4 separate regions of the Homo sapiens genome follow, and regions 2, 3 and 4 are each linked to region 1. Evidence: promoter capture Hi-C in 16 types of primary human blood cells and fetal thymus (Javierre and others, 2016). All regions are on one chromosome and are shown on one strand. Each heading gives the region's core, a stretch centred on a gene start or on the middle of the fragment in contact. The rest is flanking DNA. Distances are from core to core; before and after follow the strand shown. Region 1 holds the start of LINC00200 (long intergenic non-protein coding RNA 200). Region 2 has its middle 33 kb from the start of PFKP-DT. Region 3 has its middle 130 kb from the start of PFKP-DT. Region 4 holds the start of PFKP (phosphofructokinase, platelet).

What was found. The method cuts DNA at HindIII sites, captures the fragments that hold promoters and counts their contacts. A CHiCAGO score of 5 or more calls a contact.
Region 2: a contact is called between a fragment that was not itself captured here and the fragment with the promoter of LINC00200 in region 1, in 1 of 17 cell types (endothelial precursors). The highest score is 7.2, in endothelial precursors.
Region 3: a contact is called between a fragment that was not itself captured here and the fragment with the promoter of LINC00200 in region 1, in 1 of 17 cell types (total B cells). The highest score is 5.1, in total B cells.
Region 4: the fragment with the promoter of PFKP here is called in contact with the fragment with the promoter of LINC00200 in region 1 in 8 of 17 cell types (endothelial precursors, naive B cells, M0 macrophages and 5 more); the score reaches 11.1 in endothelial precursors.

What each region holds. Positions count from the first base shown.
Region 1 is chr10:1,158,464-1,161,163 of GRCh38, reverse strand. LINC00200 (long intergenic non-protein coding RNA 200) reads right to left here and starts at 1,396. Exons shown (of 3, transcript NR_015376.2): 1 at 1,174-1,396; 2 at 527-611. LOC105376344 (a long non-coding RNA gene) reads left to right here and starts at 1,402. Exons shown (of 3, transcript XR_930535.3): 1 at 1,402-1,900. The HindIII fragment of the contact is 5,498 bases long and covers 733-2,700 here.
Region 2 is chr10:3,032,570-3,035,269 of GRCh38, reverse strand. No RefSeq gene overlaps it. Among named protein-coding and RNA genes, the nearest start is that of PFKP-DT, 33 kb to the left of the region's middle. The HindIII fragment of the contact is 4,100 bases long and covers 1-2,700 here.
Region 3 is chr10:2,939,985-2,942,684 of GRCh38, reverse strand. No RefSeq gene overlaps it. Among named protein-coding and RNA genes, the nearest start is that of PFKP-DT, 130 kb to the left of the region's middle. The HindIII fragment of the contact is 242 bases long and covers 1,228-1,469 here.
Region 4 is chr10:3,066,298-3,068,997 of GRCh38, reverse strand. It overlaps PFKP (phosphofructokinase, platelet), which reads right to left and starts at 1,450. Exons shown (of 22, transcript NM_002627.5): 1 at 1,291-1,450. The coding sequence starts at 1,402. It overlaps LOC124902536 (wiskott-Aldrich syndrome protein family member 1-like), which reads right to left and starts at 2,428. Exons shown (of 1, transcript XM_047426132.1): 1 at 1,650-2,428. The coding sequence starts at 2,295. The coding sequence ends at 1,858. It overlaps PFKP-DT (PFKP divergent transcript), which reads left to right and starts at 2,065. Exons shown (of 4, transcript NR_160681.1): 1 at 2,065-2,245. RefSeq lists silencers at 18-198, 612-791, 1,212-1,611, 1,622-1,721 and an enhancer at 342-411. The HindIII fragment of the contact is 10,799 bases long and covers 1-2,700 here.

The sequences.
Region 1 (2,700 bases), core at 147-2,646:
GGAAGCAAGTAGCCCAGATAGACAGGACCTTCTGGAAATGAGCCTTCAGAGGCTGAAAAGCGTCTTGGAAGAGCAGCCCACTCTCCACCCAGCTGGCAGCTAAGTGGCTGGTAGTGTTGATTTCATTGTCTGCCTCAGCTTGGGTTCTCTCGGAAAGTCTCTGAGCCAAAGATTTGAGTGCAGGTAATTTATTAGGCACTTGCTCCCAGGCAAAAACGGTCAGGGGTGGGAGGATGAAAGGGAAGAAACCAAAAGTTGCAGAAGCATTGTCCTCGCAGCTAACATGGCCGCGTGCAAACGTGCCAGCCAGCAAGATGTTGGCATCGCCCTCTCAGCTAACATGGCTACCTGTGGAAGTGCCAGCCAGCAGGATGTCGGCATGGCCCTCGCAGCTAACATGGACACGTGCGAACGTGCCAGCCAGCAGGATGTCAGCATCCTCCTTGGAGCTGACATGGCCACGTGCGAACGTGCCAGCCAGCAGTAGTCGGCATGGTGCTGAGCACCCTCCGGGAACCGTCCCTACCTGAAATATGGGTGTGATGTACGGAGCACACGCAGCCACCCTGCAGCATGAGATGACTGTTGAGTACAGGACACGCAGAACGAAGCTGGAAAATGAAAAAAAAAAATCCTGGCTTGCTGACTTCCTGGGGCAAATACTGAGTGTTGGGAGATCATTTCCAGACTTAAATATGAGAGAGAAGTAAACCCCCCTTTTATTTCAAAGCTTAGCATGCCTATAAGTCACCTGCAGATCTTGTCAAAATGCAAGCTCTGACCAGAGAGCCCGGGCTTGTGACTTACATCATCTCCTGCTGAAATGCTGACGACACTCCAAATGGCAAGGGTTTTGGCCTCTATTATTTGGGGTTTTCTATCATTCACCATTGAAACTAATCCTCACTAATTAAAACAGTTTCACATTGGGGAGGAAAATAGTTTTTGTCTACTTTAAACTACTATGACTTAGGGTCTGTCAAAACCTCAAAAACTATATATATATATATTTCATTTCACTCGCTTTCATTTGGGACACAAATGGAGACCTGAATCACAGGTATCTTTGGAAACTGTTCTCAGCCTTCCTAGCTCAGCTGAAATGTCCTTTTCCAGGGACACTGGGCCCAGGGGGTGTGCTGGGGTCTGCGCTGGCTCCCCGGGCATTCATACCTTGGAAAGCTGCAGAGCTGACTTCAGGTTGTGCCAATTCCTGTGCTGCCTCATCCCTCATGTACATAAAGCGTGAGGCGCGCAGGCCTGCACCTGCGCCATCCCTCATCCACCTAAAGCGCGTGGCGCGCAGGCCTGCGCCGGCGCCATCCCTCATCTACGCAAAGCGTGCGACGCTCAGGCCTGTGCCTGCGTCATCCCTCATCTACGCAAAGCGTGCGACGCTCAGGCCTGCGCCGGCGCCATCCCTCATCTACGCAAAGCGTGCGACGCTCAGGCCTGTGCCTGCGTCATCCCTCATCTGCCTAAAGCCCTGCGCGCAGGCCTGTGCTTGCGCCATCCCTCATCTGCATAAAGCGTAGGGCGCGCAGGCCAGTGTGTTGGAAAACAACGCTTTGATGTTGTCTCCTGGATTTTCACAGCCTCCCTCTCACAGGAGAACAGGGGTGGACCCCGGCCTCGAGCACATCTGAGCTCTCTCTCTCCTGCCTGTGCTCCTGTTGAAGACATTCAGCCTCCGACTGCCCTCGGGAGGATGGAGATGCCCAGGTGCCGAGGCCAGAGCCCATGCGCAAAGCGAGGGCTGAGACCACGGAGGCCCCTTGTCTCCTCCAGCGGGTTCCTGAAGCCACGTCCCTGCTTGTGGAGGAAGAAAGCCGAACTGCAGCTCAGGGAGAGGTGGGCTTGCTGGCCTCGCTGGCGGCATCCGAATGCCTGGAGCCTCATGGTGGGTTCTGCTATTGCTGCCAGCAGCTGGATGTTTCGAAATTCGCCCGCTTTGGAATGATACAGTGAGACCTTGGCGGCCGCGCTGCCTGAGACGATGCTCTTACGTCTGCAGGGGAGGTTTCAAGGCCTGCTGGAGTCAGCGGCTGCCTTGCCGCCCTGGGAGGTGAGCAGCCCGTCCCTATGCTGGCTTCCTACAGGATGCAACCTGCATTTTCACCCCAGACAGACGCAGTCTTGGCCATCTGCTTGCCAGCATAGAAAATGCGTTGTTTCCCCCAAGTTTATTTTGGTTAATGGATTGAATTGGTTTTTTTAAACTGCATTGCTTTGAAACATCACTGGAGTTTTTCAGTTTTCATATTACTACATTTTTGATGTATTATCATTGAAATGCTATTTTAATGACGGTCAAAGCGGCTCCCAAGCCCTCCTTCACTGGTGAAGCACCAAGGTGCTCAAGTGAGCTCCCAGTGTACATGAGGGTGCTCTCGCTTTTGAAAAAAAGTGAAGGAGGCTGGGCGCGGTGGCTCACACCTGTAATCACAGCACTTTAGGAGGCTGAGGCAGGCGGATCACGAGGTCCGGAGCTCCAGACCAGCCTGGCCAGCATGGTGAAACCCCATCTCTATTAAAAATACAAAAATTAGCCGGGCATGGTGGCATGCACCTGTGATCCCAGCTACTCAGGAGGCTGAGGTAGGAGAATCGCTTGACCCCAGGAGGTGGAGGTTGCAATGAGCGGAGATTGTGTCATTGCACTCCAGCCTGGGCAATAGAGTGAGACTCCAAGAAAGAAAA
Region 2 (2,700 bases), core at 188-2,687, 1.9 Mb before region 1:
CTCCGAGCTCTTGGAATGAGCTCCGTGAGATGATGCTGAATCCTGATGAATATCTTTTGGTGCTGGGAGTTCTCTCTGGATATGAGGTCCCTATGTTTATAGATAAATTAGGCCCATAAATACTGAGGTGGAAGGAAAGGAAAAGTCCCCCTACAGATGTGTAAATGAATGACTTGACTCAAACTTTTTTTTAAAATTTTTTTTTAAGAAAAGACGCTCCAAGACATAGGAGCAATCAATGTTACTGTTAAAGGAGGGGGCAGGCTTCAATGTTATCGTGAAGGACACTGGAATGTTGCTGTTTATTAATTTTGGGTTGTTTTACTTTTGTAGAAGGGGAAGTTGAGATAGTTGGCATGCAAAGCACATGTTGTCAGCTTTAGCTATTTTAATCGCAGTGAGAAATGGAATTAACTGCTGAACCAAAACCACTGGAGAATAATTAGGGTCACTATTTTTCCTGAATCATGGATTTCCTAATCTTCAGAAGACTCGGGCATTTTGACTCATTTGACTACTTCAGTTTCCTCAAATTTTCTTATTAAAACTATTTAAAATAATATAGCAATAAAGAGGAACTTCCAACAATACCTCTTCACTGTATCTCAGCGTCTACTTTGTTGAACAAGAATACCATGAATGTCTGACCTTTACATCGTTGAAACTTTTTTCTAAAAATCAGTCATGCTTGATCCAGAAGATAATTTATATCCTTAAAGTCTCCTTTCACAAGAGTTCTGTGGGTGCACTGAGGAACACAAGGCTTTATCTATTATAGAAGGTAAAAGAATGTCCACGAACAACCTTTTGTTCTCCCAAGTTGGTCACCTTTACTAATTACATCCAGCAAGTCCTGGGCAGATCCTAATATGACCTAACTTAGAATCCTATTGGTCAGTCTGGGGATCTTCTCCTAAAGAAGTTTGGTACTGGCAAATACTAGGTCTCAGTAACATGATCCCAATGTGAGCATTGTCTCTTGTACTGACATTTCTATTTTACTGATTTTTTTTTTGTAAGTGTTGTGCTGTGTGCCAGGCACCACGCCAAGCCCTTTAGCATTTCTAATTTACGTAATCATCCTAATAACCTCATGAGGAAAGTGCCATAGTGTTCCCACTCACTGGACAAGGACACTGAGAGAGACGCCATCTGCCTATTTGTCCATGGCACCAGGGCTGTGCCTCCCTGGGCTCGTGGGCCATGGGCTGCAGCACAGCCTCTGCTGTTATTCTTAAGGACCTCTTGATATGCAGTCAGTTTTCTATTTCTTTCTTTTTTTTTTTTTGGTTTGTTTGTTTTTGAGACGGAGTCTCACTCTGTCACCCAGGCTGGAGTGTAGTGACATGATCATGGCTCACTGCAACCTCCACCTCCTGGGTTCAAGCGATTCTCCTGTCTCAGCCTCCCGGGTAGCTGGAACTACAGGCACACACCACCACACCTGGCTAATTTTTGCATTTTTAATAGAGACGGGGTTTCAGCATGTTGGCCAGGCTGGTCTCGAACTCCTGACCTCAAGTGATGCGCCTGCCTCGGCCTCCCAGAGTGCCAGGATTACAGGTGTGAGCCACCTGCCTGATCTGGTTTTATATTTCTAAATGTAATAGAACGTAATTTCTGGATAAAGAGTTTGGGCTGTTGAGCCAGATTTGGGTTTGAATTGAGCTCAGCTGCTTATTAGCTGGGCGAAGTTCAGAAACATGGTCACTTTCCTTTGAGTCTTTGTCTTATCTGTGACATAAAAATAAGTCAACCTGTAGGGATAATGACATAATTAGAAAAAAATACACCAAACACTACAGATGGCACCTGACTCTTAGTAGCACTTGGTAGGACCTATTTAATAATGATCGATTAAATATTAATAATAAGGCAAACAGGGATAGAAAAAATGTGGCTACAAACAAGAGACCTGGAAATCACCACCCCATCCACAAACAATTGGGTCAATAATTGAATGCTGTTTTGTTTTCCAATCCTACCAGCTTCAATAAATATAGACTGCCGTATCTCTATGCATCAGACATGTCCATCCTTTGGTTGAGCGAGACACAGGGTGAGTGAGTCTTACTGCATTTACTTTTCCCCCCTGTAACATGTAATCGGTCTCTTGTTTTCTCGAATTGATCAGTTTCAGAATGGCTTCCAAGATATTCATGGAATAACAAACTATTTATTGGTGGCAGAAATATCGTATCCTCAGCCTTCAATGGGCTCAAAGGAAAAAACACCTGCTCCTTAAGTCTCCATGGGCTCAGCTCTTGATCACCGGCTTCTTGAACAACAGTCCCATCTGTGTGGCGGTCCTGATGTTGTATTTTATATTTTATTAAAATACACAGGTGATACGCACTCGCAGGTGCATACATGTCCTATCCTGGTCTGTGATTTTTCTGTCCAAGATGGTGGCTGTTGTACCCTTGATTTTCTGAAGTCACCAGCACACAGCCTCAGTGCCAGTGGTCATCAGCCGTGTTATCAGCTTTCAGGTATGAATTGCCATCACTTTATTGTTTTCTTACTTGGCATGCTTTTTTTTTCAATAGTTTTTGGGGTAGAAGTAGTTTTGTTTACACATTTTTTAGTGGAGATTCCTGAGATTTTAGTGCACCTGTCACCCAAGCAGTATACACTGTACCCAAGGTGTAGTCTTTTATCCCTCAGACCCCAACCTTCCCCCCCGCCGAGTCCCCAAAG
Region 3 (2,700 bases), core at 99-2,598, 1.8 Mb before region 1:
TATCTTGGGATGAGAGGTAGAAAACAGATGCATTCTGGAAGGGATGATCCCCTTGCAATCTGGAGAGAAGCAGAGGTTGATTGTTCAGGGGGGCAGAGTGTAGGGACACCACAGTCTAAACAGAGACGGGGGTGCATGCAGAACGCCTCCTGCAGCAGGAAACAGGCACGTGCAAGGAAGTAAGCAAGAGAGAAAGCGGCGCAAGACAAGACAAGAACGAAGGCAGGCAGGAAGGGGCTGGGAGATTATGGTAGATGCTTTTTTCTCTTAATAACAGCAATGGGACGCTGTTGAAAGCACTTGAGGGAGGTGGGGAAGTGAGTATGACATACTTTGTGTTTGTAAAATTATCACATTGTCTTACCAAACTAAATATACTCTTTATTTATCATTATTATTATTATTTATTATTATTTTCTTTTTGAGACGGAGTCTCGCTCTGTCGCCCAGGCTGGAGTGCAGTGGCGCGATCTCGGCTCACTGCAAGCTCCGCCTCCCAGGTTCACGCCATTCTCCTGCCTCAGCCTCCCGAGTAGCTGGGACTACAGGCACCCGCCACCACGCCTGGCTAATTTCTTGTATTTTTTTGGTAGAGATGGGGTTTCACCGTGTTAGCCAGGATGGTCTCGATCTCCTGACCTCGTGATCCGCCCACCTCGGCCTCCCAAAGTGCTGGGATTACAGGCGTGAGCCACTGCGCCTAGCCTTTTTTTTATTTTTTAATTTTACTTTAAGTTCTGGGATACATGTGCAGGTCTGTTACACAGGTATACATGTGCCATGGTGGTTTGCTGCACCTATCAACCTGTCATCTAGGTTTTAAGCCCTGCATGCATTAAGTATTTGTCCTAATGCTCTTCCTCCTCTTGCTGCCACCCCCCAACAGGCCCCAGTGTGTGATGTTCCCCTCCCTGTGTCCATGTGTTCTCATTGTTCACCTCCCACTCACGAGTGAGAAAATGTGGTGTTTGGTTTTCTGTTCCTGTGTTAGTTTACTGAGAATGATGGTTACCAGCTTCATCCCTGTCCCTGTAAAGGACAAGAACTCATTCTTTTTTATGGTTGCATAGTATTCCATGGTGTACACGTGCCACATTTTGTTTATCCAGTCTATCATTGATGGGCACTAGATATACTCTTAACATGTGATCCAGCAATTGCATTTATCCAAAGGAGTTGAAAACTTGTGTTCACAGAAAAACCTGCACATGGACGTTTACAGAAGCTTTATTCATAATTGCTAATTTTATAGCAGCTTTATTCATAATTGCTCAAACTTGGAGGCAACCAAGAAACCAAAATATTCTTCAGTAGGTGAGTGGATAAATAATGTGATATATCCAGACAATGGAATATTCTTTAACACCGAAAAGAAATGAGCTATCAAGTCATGAAAAGAAATGAAGGAACTTTAAACACATACGACTACACGAAAGATACCCATCGGAAAAGACTAAATACTGTAAGCTTCCAACTAAAGGACATTCTGAAGAAGGCCAAACTATGGAGTGAAAATATTAGTGGTTCCCAGGTGTTGGGAAGAGGGAGAGATGATCAGGTGGAACATGGAGGATTTTTAGGATTTTAGTGCAACTGCTCTGTATGACGCTATGATGGTGGATACATGTCATGATACATTTGTTACACCCATAGAACCAGCACCAAGAGTGAGCCCTCATGTAAACTGTGGACTCTGGGTGACAATATGTCAATGTAGGTTCTTCAATTGTTACTAATGCTCCCTCTGGGCAGGAGTGTTGTTAGTGGAGGAGGCTGTGCATGTGGGGGAACGGAAGGCATATAAAAGGACTCTCAGTACCTTTCCCTCAATTTTTCTGTAAACCTAAAACTGCCTAAAAGATAAAGTGTATTTTTAAAAAATAAAGAAAAAAAACCCCTAAAAATCCTCACAAAAATCAAATGAGAAAATGATCACACTGGATGCTTCCGGTCAAAATGGAAGAACAAGGGCTGTATTTACCATCCCACCAGATGGCTTTTTTCCTTACTGCTTTTCAGCATTGTTTTGGAGTCTAGCCAGTGCAATAAGGCAAGTTGAAATATATAAAACACACCTTTACTAGAAAATAAGATTTAAAACTATCTGTATCTGCAGGTGACCTAATCACCTATGTGGAAAATCTCCTGAAGTCACAAAAAGCCACTAAAACTAATAATAATAAATTACTTACTAATAAATGAGTTTGGAAAGTTTGCAAGATACAAGATCAACACACAAGCAGTATTTATCTCTTTATACACTGGCATGAAATAATTGGAAATGGAAATTTACAAAGCAATATTATTTATAGCACATCAAAAAATGAAATATTTAAGACTAAATCTGACAAAAGATGTGTAAGATCTATACACTGAAAAGCAGGCAGTGACGCTGAGATAAATTAAATAACTAAATAAATGAAGTGATATACTGTGTTCATGGATCAGCAGGCTCAATATTGTTAAGATGTCAATTGTGCCCTTGTGGATCTACAGGTTTAATGCAATTCCAGTCAAAATCCCAGCATGATTTTATTTTATTCTATTTTTTTTTCAGTAGAAATGAACAAGCAGTTTCCAAAACGTGTCTGGAAATTCAAAGAACCCAAAAAAGCTAAGACAACTTGGAAAAAAAAAGGTGGAGGACTTACCTTAACTATCAAGATAGTGTGGTATTGGTATAATAAGAGAAAACTGGGC
Region 4 (2,700 bases), core at 201-2,700, 1.9 Mb before region 1:
CGCGCCCGCCCCGCGCGCTCAAGGGCGAAGGGAAGGTCACCCGCGCAGTGGGCAGGGGGTGCATCCCCGCTCCAACCCTGTGCAGTGCGCGGCCCCGAAACGGGAGGAAATCCGCCATCCGGGCCTTTCCACGCATCTGCGGCAGGAGGAACCGGGAAAACAAAAATCAAAACCCAGCTCGGGGCGCGCCGCGTCTCCAGCCTGCGCGATCGCTAAGGCTCCCAGGTTGCGTTCGCCTGGGAAGCGCCGATCTACCCGCCAGGGATTGCACGGATCGGGACACTCCATCATCCGGGCACCGGCGCCCCCACGTGCACCCGGGGCCTGGGGCGCGCCGAGTCTCCGCCACCTTCCGCTCTTCAATGTTAAATATCCTCCCGGCGCGCCCGCGTCCGTGGGCCCAGCCTCGGGCCCCTCCTAGAGAGCAGCTTCCACATTGCAGGGCAGGGAAGCCCGGAGCCCGCGCCGCGGCGCCGCTGACATCCCGGAGTCCCCGCTTCCTGATCCTTCCCGTCTGCGGAGGCTGGCGGGGAGGGCCTGGGACCCATTTTGGTTTTCGTTTTTGTCACGAGCCGGAAGGCGACAGCACATGCGAGCGCAGGAAACCCTTTTTAAAAATCTCCCAGCGGAAACGCGAGGGGCTGCCGGACCGCCCTGGAGACGCCAGGCGGGAACCCCGCGCACCCCCGCCGCGTCCCGCATTGCAGCAGCCAGGACCCCGCCCACGCCGCGCAGGGCACGAGGCGACAGGAGGCGCGCGGGGACCCAGCCGTTTCTTCCTCGACATTCTAGGGGGTGGCGTGCGGCGGAGTTGGGGGGCGGGGGGGCACTTAGGAAGTGATCGCGCTGTACCCACGCTTCGGAGGGGACGCCCGGCCCCGTCCTACAGCTCAGAGGCAGAACGACCCCCGAGGGCGCTTCAGGCGACTCCCTCTGCCAGGTTCCATTTAAAACAAAACCGAAGGTGGAAAACTCACTGATCTTCCGGATGGAGGTTCCTACCGCCATGTCCCTTCCTCCCCCGCCCCACCGGGCAAGGACCCCGGGGCTGCCTCGCCGGCTCATGCCGCCCCGCAGGTACCCCTGCCGCTTCCGGGCGCGGGCTTCTTCCCGGTTCTCCCCATCGCTTCCCCGCTCTTCTCCCCGGTTCTCCCCATCGCTTCGCCACCTTTCCCCGGGTCCCCCCCATCGCTTCCCCCCTCTTCTCTCCGGTCACCCCATCGCCTTCGCCCGGTTCTCCCCAGCTCCGTCCGTCCGTCCCTCCCTCGCCGCCGGGAGGGGGGCGCGCACCTTGAGCATCCCCGCCGCTGGTCAGCACGCCGATGGCCTTGCCGGCCCCGGAGAGGTGCTCCAGGAACTTCCGCAAGGAGCCCTTGGGGGCCCGGGAGTCGTCCGCGTCCATGGCGAGGAGGCCGAGGGGAGCCGCACGTCCGGGTGCGCAGCAGGCAATGGGGACCCTGCCCGCGCGCGCCTGACTCGGAACCGCCGCCCCGCCCGCGCCCCCGCCCGGCCCCAGCGCCAATGGGCGGTGACGGGCGGGGCCCGAGCGTATGGGAGGGGCTGCGGGGGAGGGGGCGCGGGCGCGGCTAGGGGCAGGGGCCGGGGCTGGGGCGGGTGTGGGCAGGAGCATCTACGCGGGGGTCGTCGTAGGTGGGGGCCGCGCTAGCGGTGCGGGAGGCGGCAGAGGCAGGGGTAGCGCCACAGGTGGGCGGGTCCCTGCTAGTGGGGCCGCATCGCAGGTGCGCGAGCCTCGCGGGTGGGCTGGAGGACTCTGGTTGGGGGCTCTAGAGATGACGGGAGCGCCACAGGTGGGGCAGGGGCAGCGTCCGGAGGAGGGGAGACCGCAGGGGGCCGGGGTCACATCGTTTGCGGGGCGCGCCAGGGCGGGGCGGGATAGAACGCCGGGAGCATCTCCCGGGGGGGCGAGGGAGACCGTGAGTGGGCGCGAGCGCCGGGGCGGGTGGAAACCCCGCAGTTGCGGGGAGCGCCGATGGCGGGGAGGGGTGGAATGGGGGCGCGGAGACCCCACCTGGACGCGGAGGCTCGCGGCAGGCCCGGCCGCTCGGGCCGTTGTGGGGGCCGAGCCCGGCCGCGCGCACAGCTTCTAGTGGCCCGCAAGATTCCTCCTGGGGCGGCGCTGGGAGCCTCGGGGCTCGGCTTCCTCGACCCCCGCCCCCAGGTTTCCTCTGCAGCCTGAGGTCGGGAAGGACGGACGGAGAGTGGATCCTCCAGGTGGTGGGAAAAGGTGAGCGTGGCGGGCTGGGCCATGACGAAGCTGCCATTTCCCGGGCCCATGGGGGCTGTGGTGCTCCTGGGCCCCCAGCCCCGCCCTTGGGGGGAAGAAGCCGTGGGGTGGAGGAAGGTATCGGGGCGCGACCCTCAGAGACGCCCTGGCGGCGCCCCGGCCTGGGCGCTGGAAAGTCAGAGTGGGGCAGGAGGAGGCGCAACAGGACTGGCCTGGCGGGGAGGCGGGGAGGCGGGAGGACCCTCCCTCCCCACGGACACGCGCGCTGCTGTACGCTCTGCCTGACCTCGGCCGGCTCCACTGGCCAGCTCCACGTACTGAAATACTCACATCCAATGCACTGTGCGGTTGCCCATCCACAGCTTAACAGCCTGGTGCCAGTTACCCTGCGATGGGAGAGGGGGCAGCCCCCATAGAAGCACGGGCTTATGGGACCCGGGTTCCTTCAGTGCTCA